Linked DNA regions of Homo sapiens: region 1 is linked to region 2. The links are contacts of gene promoters, found by promoter capture Hi-C in blood cells and fetal thymus (Javierre and others, 2016). All regions are on one chromosome and are shown on one strand. The core of a region is centred on a gene start or on the middle of the fragment in contact, and the rest is flanking DNA. Distances in the headings are between cores, read along the strand shown. Region 1 holds the start of RSL24D1 (ribosomal L24 domain containing 1). Region 2 holds the start of C15orf40 (chromosome 15 open reading frame 40).

Evidence for each region. Contacts are between HindIII fragments. The CHiCAGO score rates a contact against its expected background, and 5 or more counts as called.
Region 1: a fragment that was not itself captured here is called in contact with the fragment with the promoter of C15orf40 in region 2 in 1 of 17 cell types (non-activated CD4 T cells); the score reaches 6.1 in non-activated CD4 T cells.

The regions. Positions count from the first base shown.
Region 1 is chr15:55,194,452-55,196,951 of GRCh38, reverse strand. RSL24D1 (ribosomal L24 domain containing 1) reads left to right here and starts at 11. Exons shown (of 6, transcript NM_016304.3): 1 at 11-142. The coding sequence starts at 62. RefSeq lists enhancers at 47-206, 1-891. The HindIII fragment of the contact is 2,449 bases long and covers 26-2,474 here.
Region 2 is chr15:83,009,485-83,014,369 of GRCh38, reverse strand. C15orf40 (chromosome 15 open reading frame 40) reads left to right here and starts at 2,731. Exons shown (of 4, transcript NM_144597.3): 1 at 2,731-2,873; 2 at 4,007-4,133. The coding sequence starts at 2,763. LOC124903542 (a long non-coding RNA gene) reads right to left here and starts at 2,629. Exons shown (of 2, transcript XR_007064742.1): 1 at 1,311-2,629. RefSeq lists an enhancer at 2,494-2,553. The HindIII fragment of the contact is 2,628 bases long and covers 1,239-3,866 here.

The sequences.
Region 1 (2,500 bases), core at 1-2,500, about 28 Mb after region 2:
GGGTTGCATCACTTCCTCTCAAGCTTGGCGTTTGTTTGGTGGGGTTACACGCGGGTTCAACATGCGTATCGAAAAGTGTTATTTCTGTTCGGGGCCCATCTATCCTGGACACGGCATGATGTTCGTCCGCAACGATTGCAAGGTAAGGCGGTCGACACCAGTTCTTGCTTCAGCCTAGCTCCCGCGGTTCCTGGGCGCGGCGGCTCGGTGCTGGGTGCTTCTGCGTCTGCCGTGTTTGGCCCGGGTTCCTCCCGTTGTTCCCCTGGGAGGGTGGCTTAACTGGGCCTCCGTTCTCAACGTTCCGCTTCGGGGGTTTCTCCTTGCCCGTCTTCCGAGCGGCGCTGGCCACCACGCCACCCTTGGGTGGCGTTGGCAGCGAGGAACTTCAGGAGCGATCCCAGCTAGCGCCTACCAGGAATCTTGGATGTCTGTGAGGGCTGTTTGGCCACTCATGTACTTGGGCCAAATTCTTGAATCCAGTAAACTTTGTTGAGTGTATACCCTGTCAGGCATTACACTAAGGTCCATACTAAAGTGTAGAGGTTGATGGAAGTGTTCCGTATTGCTTAATGGTAGAGTTATGTATTAAGTTACTGCAGGTGAGTTGGGGAGGGTCCTGTACGGAAAGACTCAGCATAGAGGTGATATTTATCTTGGATCCTGAATTTTGCGGAAGAAAGCGGAGGGGGCCTTCTAAGTGGAAGGAAAGTGAACATTTTGAGAAAAGGCAGAGAACGGAGCAAATACATTTGTTTGAGGAAGTGACTGGATTGTAAATGATGATAGAGCCTTGGGCGTAGGGCTACAAGTATAATAAGTCTGTAAACGTAAATAATAAATATGAGTCCTAGTTGTGAAAGACGTTTTGAATGGTACATGAATTTGTCCTGTCATTACAGAATGAATCCCGTTCCTCTCTTTCTCAGAGAAACACATTGTTTCTCAGAATTTGATCTCTTACGTTTGCTTCTGAATTACTGGGCGTTTACAGATTCCTGGTTTTCACCAGATCTATTGAGTTGGAATCTTTGGGGGAGGGGAAGAGGGTCTAAGAATCTGTATATTAAGGTGAATTTGACGTGCTAAATAATTACAAGTCTGACTTCTTCACCTTATATCTCTGTAACAGATCAAAGATATTGACCTCATTAATTAGATCCAAGGGATTCAGCTGAAAGTGACGGACCAAAGCCATGTTTGATAACGTAAAAGAACCTAGAAGATTTTGAATACTTGCTCTCAGGAACATGATAAGAAGTTTATAAAAATGAACCAAAAGATTGCCAGGTTGGGGTCTAATTCAGAGTAGGCAGTATGGTTTTATACATGATGTCGTTACGATTTTGTGATTTTCGTCCAGGATGCTTGTCGGCTGGATATTGGAATTAGAACAACAGATCGTGAGAACTGTCAAGACCTGGGTATTGATTTGGTAGACACAGTGGAAGTTAAGTTGATGAAGAATAAGGACAGTGTTGAGTTGGTTGGGAGTCACCAGTGGATCCAGAAGAGAGTTGTTGGAGGAAATAAAAGATAGAGGGCCTGAAGCACTAACAAAGAACAAGTATCTCATCTTTTTTTATGCTTGATTTCCAAACCTAAATCTCCTGAGCTCCAAATCTGAATTTTCCATTGGATGTACCTAACAGTAGGTACAGTGGGCCTACTGAAAGAGAATTCCTTAGTACCTCAGATCTTTTTGCTCTGTGAATTAATACCACTCTTAAGTGCCCGGATAGTTTTGCTAGAAACATGAGAGTCGTCTGAATCTTTTCACCTTTTGTATCTAGTTATCAAGTCTTACCTATCCTGCCTCTGCAAAGATAGTGGTGTCTTTGCCTTCTTTCTACTTTCCTGTCCTAGTTCAGATTAGGCTCTTACCACTTTTATAGCCTCTTATCTAGCCTTTTTTTTTTTTTTTTTTTTTGAGACAGGGTCTCACTGTCTATTGCCCAGGCTGGAGTGCAGATGTGTGATCATGGCTCTCTGCAGCCTCAGTCTCCTGTACTTAAGCAGTCCTCCCTCCTCAGCATGCTGAGTAGCTGGGACTACAGGTGTGCACCACCATGCCCAATATCAAAAAAATTTTTTGTAGAGACGGGGAGATTAACATTGTGTGTGTGTGTGTGTGTGTGTGTGTGTGTGTGTAGAGACAGAGGCTTGCTATGTTTCCCAGGCTTTAACTAGTCTTTCTGCCTTTATTCTCTTAGTTTCTGAGACTGTTATTAATAGAAACTTCACCTTTTACTCTTCTTAGGCATAAATGGGTTAAGGGTAGAATTAATGCTAATTCTCTATATTTGCACATACTTTGCAAACAGGGAAAATACATTCTTAATGAGGGCTTAATAAATGTTGAATTAGTGGAATAAGAAAGGTTTGAAGAACTTTGAGTCCAAGGTATGGGGGATCATTTGTTAGCATGTTAGCATTTAGGGGACTAAATTAAAAGAGAAACTTGAAACCATAAAGCTTTGCCTGACACATAAGCCATCCACCT
Region 2 (4,885 bases), core at 1,482-3,981:
ACTCACCTTCACAGACGTCCCCTTTATTTCCATGACAACTGCCAAACCTCTAATTGAGGCTGACGTGACTTCACCCAAAGCAGATTCTACAAATGACTGCTATATAATGCTGGTTCAGCTTTTGTGCCTCAATTCTTAACTGATTTCAAAGAAGGGAAATATGGTTTTGGTTTAACACCTGGCTCACTTTCTTCTGCTCAAGCCTTTATACTGCATGGCCTCAGTGGCCATGTGGACAACCCAGCTACACCTAGGTTTCCAGTTTCTTCTTTACCTCCAGCAACCTTCACCATTCCTTATCATGGCCACACCATATACCCTATCATGATGTGGAATTGCTCTACATCTGAAATAGGAAATTCAGACATCCCACTCTCTGGCCACAACCTTTGGTGTTTCTTCCAGCTCTCACTCACATTCCAGTTACACCCGTTATTGAACCTAAGACTGCAGCCCCTTGTCCTCTCTGTTCTTTTCTTCTTTACTTCCTTCTTTACCCAGTTAGACTCTACTTTTGGTCTCCCTCAACCCCTCTCCACCTTTGGTCTTTAATAACTTTAACCATTTCATCAATAACCCTCAACCCACTTAAATATACCTGAATCAATCCAGTTGTCTGCCTTATCTTCAACTTCCTGACTGCTTTGGTAGTAGCACTGGGGCCAAAAAAAAATTTAATTAAAAAAAAAACTTCTTAGCTGGTGAATCCAGGCATCTAAAGTAACGTAACTATAGGCCAGGCGCTAGCTCACGCCTGTAATCCTAGCACTTTGGGAGGCCGAAGTGGGTGGATTGCCTGAGCTCAGGAGTTCGAGACCAGCCTGGGCGAAATGGCGAAACGCCCGTCTCTACTAAAAATACAAAAAATGGGTGTGGTGGCGCGCGCCTGTAGTCCCAGCTACTCTGGAGGCTGAGGCAGGGAGAATTGCTTGAACCTAGGAGGCGGAGGTTGCAGTGAGCCGAGATCCCGCCACTGCACTCCAGCCTGGGCGACAGGCTCTTCCCATCCCCCTGTCTCAAAAATAAACAAAAATAAAATAAGGTAACTATAGATTGGGATCATAGATGATTTCACGGTCTCCCTTAACTGTCTACCGCTGGGTGAGTTGCAATAGTCAGCCCTTTGCCATTCTCAAGAGTCCCAATATACCTTCAACACCTCCCCCGCCTTAGTTAATGAAAGAAATTCCACCTCCCATCACCAAACCTACAAACACAGCTACATGTCCACCTAAGCTTTCCCTTAGGAAGGAAGGAGTGTCTAAGGCCTCCTGTAGAGAACTCAATCTCTACTTGAGCTCAGATCCTACCTCTTCAGGAACCGTCCTCTGCTGTAACCTCTCTTCTCCTGGCTCTTTCCTACCAATCTTCAAATATGATAAAAATAAGTCTCTGAATGTCATGTGCCCCTCCAGATACCAATTGCTCCTTCACAGTGAAGTCACTGGATTATTCTCTACAATTATCTCCATTTCCTTCTCTCCACTAAAACTGCTGTAGCCCGGGTCACCACCACCACCCTGATTTCTAAATCTTGTGGCCACTTCTCAGTCGTTACATGTGACATGTTCTCTCCAGAGTGTTCATCACTGTTGATGTTCCCTCTTGAAGCGCCCTTCTTTAGCTGCCGTTACACCGTACTCCTACCTGGTCAGTGTCCTTTGGTGACTTCTCTACCTGCCCTTGCTGTTCTAACCTGGGCCCTCGTGCTCTTTACACACTCTCTCATCCATTTCCATAGCTTCAATTGCCATCTGCTTTCAGAAGATTCCAGAATCTCTATCACCAGCCTTGATTTCGCAAACTCCAGTCACATATATTCAGTTACCCCTTTAACATTTGTATTTGGATGTCCTGTGGGCATCTCAAACTCATTATGTCCAAAGCTGAACTCCTCACCTCGGCCTCCCAAACCTGTTCCTTGGGCCCCAAACCTGGGCATTTCCTTGACTTTTCCCCCTTATTCGCACATGCAGTCATTCCCAAGTTCTGATCATTTCAGTTCCTGAAGATCCTTGAAATGATCAGCGCTCCACCCTCCCTGCGGTTACTCTAGTTCAGGCCACCCTCTCCCATTTAGGGGGCGGATCTCCCTGTCTCTGGCTTTTCCTCTGTCGGCCACAGTGCAGCCGGTGTCTTTCTAAAACCCAGCAAATTGGGCTGCTAATAATCCCTTGCTTGAAAGCCTTCAGTGACTCCATGATCTTGCCTCTGCTGATTTGTTTCATGTCTCTCCATATCACATGTCGCAGTGTATTTCCTCTTCTTTTACATTGTGGGATCCGCTGCGCCTGGCACAAGGTAGGTGCGCCATCGATACGTGGAAGATTCACAAGGGCCAAGCCGCCACGAGGCTCTATATCGACTTGATGGCCACAGGCAGCGCGTGGGACTCTGCATCTGCTGCTTGGCTGTGGGAGCGAGAAGACACCTGGCCCTGTGCACTCCTTGCCGCGCTCTCCAATTCTGAGAAGTGACAATACCTTTCTTTCCCCGATTAGGAAAGAGGTGACACACCTTCCTATCAGCTGAGCAGGGTGGGCCAAGACACGGTGAGGCCTCAGCTCCGCAGCTCCACTTCCTGGGGCTCGGCCCGTTCCAGAACAAAAGAGACTCGCGCATGTTCTGCGGCCACGAGACTCGCTCCCGCCGGCCTTAAGGTGTCGCCCTCTGGCCAGAGCGGATGCGCCGGGCGGTGGGGCCGCTCCTGCCGGCTACCTGCGCAAGCGCAGAGGGCTCTTCCGGCGCCTTCCCAGGCGGGGATGCTGCGGCTCCGCAGCGGGCTGAGGCACCTTCGGGCAACACCCAATACTCGGGGCTCCGCTCGGCTTCTTTGCGCCGAGATGCCTAAGAAGGCTGGTGCGACGACCAAGGCCAGTAGCAGGTCCCGTGGCGGCAGAGGGGTGGGCCTCAGGGGTACTTGTTGAAGAGCGCGGGAGAAGCGGGGCCCGGGAGTGAGTGGAGGCACTGCCAGCGGCTTGCCGTCTCTCAGTTCCGGGGCTCAGGACAGCCGCCGCCACCCCCAGAGCTGCGGCCTGCTGCCGTCGCCCCGCCTCAGTAGGCTGCGCTGCCGTCCACCTGGTGATTTCTGAGCGCTGGGCCCGGCGGCAGCCGAGCTCTCCTTGGGCTGCGTGTGCTGACCTTTGGCCTCCTACCCGCACTCCCAGTCCAGCAATTCATGTTCCCGCAGCGGCATGACCTGCGTTTCCCCAGGAGGCTGTATTCTGCTTTCTCCTCCCTTGCTTTGGCTGATCGCACCCCTTCTGTCAAGAATACAGCACTCCCATTTCCACCATCTTTGTTTGGCCAACCCCAGTCCGTTTCTCAGACTCAGCTCAAGCACTGCCTCCTGCTGGCAGCATTCTCCAGTGCCCCAATGCTGATTTGCCTGTGGGGTAATGTTCTGTGCCTATCTCATCGGTGCACTTAGCACAGTGTATTATAATTTTGTATGTTCTTTCTCCCTCGCAGCAGTCCGAGCTCCTTGAGAGCAAGGACCATGTACCTTTTCATCTTTACATATCCATTGCCTACATATTTGTTGAACGAAAGTTCCTAGCACAGCCCCTGTCCCATAACAGGCCTTTAAATATCAAGCACTATTTTTTTTTCCTCCCTTTCCCGCAACATGCAGACATACACACTTTCACCAACATTTATTAGCTCCGACTGCATGAGATACAATGATGAATAATAAATGATCCCTGCCCCCAAGGAATTGGAAATACAAAGCAGAGGGAGGAGCAAGCATTAAGGTTTAGAAGCCAGAGTTAGGTTTTCTTGCAAGGGGGGAAAAAACACTGTTGGGTTGATGGGAACCCTTCGTGGGAAAATTGAGTAGAGCCTTGAAGGTTGTGGGAAAAGCTTTCTAGGTGGCCAGAAGTCCCTGGACACCACTGATGAGCCTAGTTTGTCTGTTAAGGGTGAAAGGGGGTAGTGGAAGAATCAAATTAAATGTGTGGGAAAATATTTTGTAACCTGTAAAGTTGTGTGGTTGTCATTTTAGGGTAAAAGCCAGAGCAAGGAACCAGAGAGACCACTTCCTCCCTTAGGTCCTGTGGCAGTTGATCCTAAAGGATGCGTCACCATAGCCATCCATGCAAAACCTGGCTCCAAACAAAATGCTGTAACAGGTATACCTGGACACTGGGGTGGGATTCAAGTGTGAATCAGGTGTCTCCTACAGCCCTCCTTTGCTTTGGTTAGCTGAAAGCTTATTCTATGACAGTTGATTTTTCACATCTGCAGTTAGAGGCTTCTCCATTTTAAAATTCTAGATTCTAATGTAAAGGTGTCTTAAAGTGAATATATCTTTAAATCATGCCAAGTTACACGAAAACCATTGTATATTTTCCTCTTTAAAAATACAGTATTTTAGAAAGGACAGTTATGGAAACTTGTGTGTAGTCTGGATTATTCTTAGTTTGTCCTGTTCCAAAACTGGAGACATTGGCCAGAGAAAGAAGAGACATTTTAGTGTAGTTTAATGATCACTGGCCTAAGGAGAGGGAGAAAACTTGAGATCTGAGACCCGTGATCAGTTCCTGTGCGAATTTGTTTTAAATCAAAACAGTATAAAACATTCATGGGTCCAGTTTTTTCATCTGTCAGATGAGATCGTTGGACTAAGTTAGAGGCTTTCAGGCTATTCTCTGGAGTGCTGGAGGTGCCTCAGGAATCAGCTTTGGGCAAGGAGGAGGCCAGGCAGACAGGGCTCCTGACTAGCTCTGTTTACATTTGTTTTACATATTGGGATTCTGGAGAAAATTGGGGGAAGGGATTCTAAAGGAAAAAAAGTTCAAAAACCATTGCTCTAAATTCTTTTGAAGGTCTTTTTCACCTCTAAAGCTCTGTATTTCAAACCATTTTTAGATTTTGAAAGGAA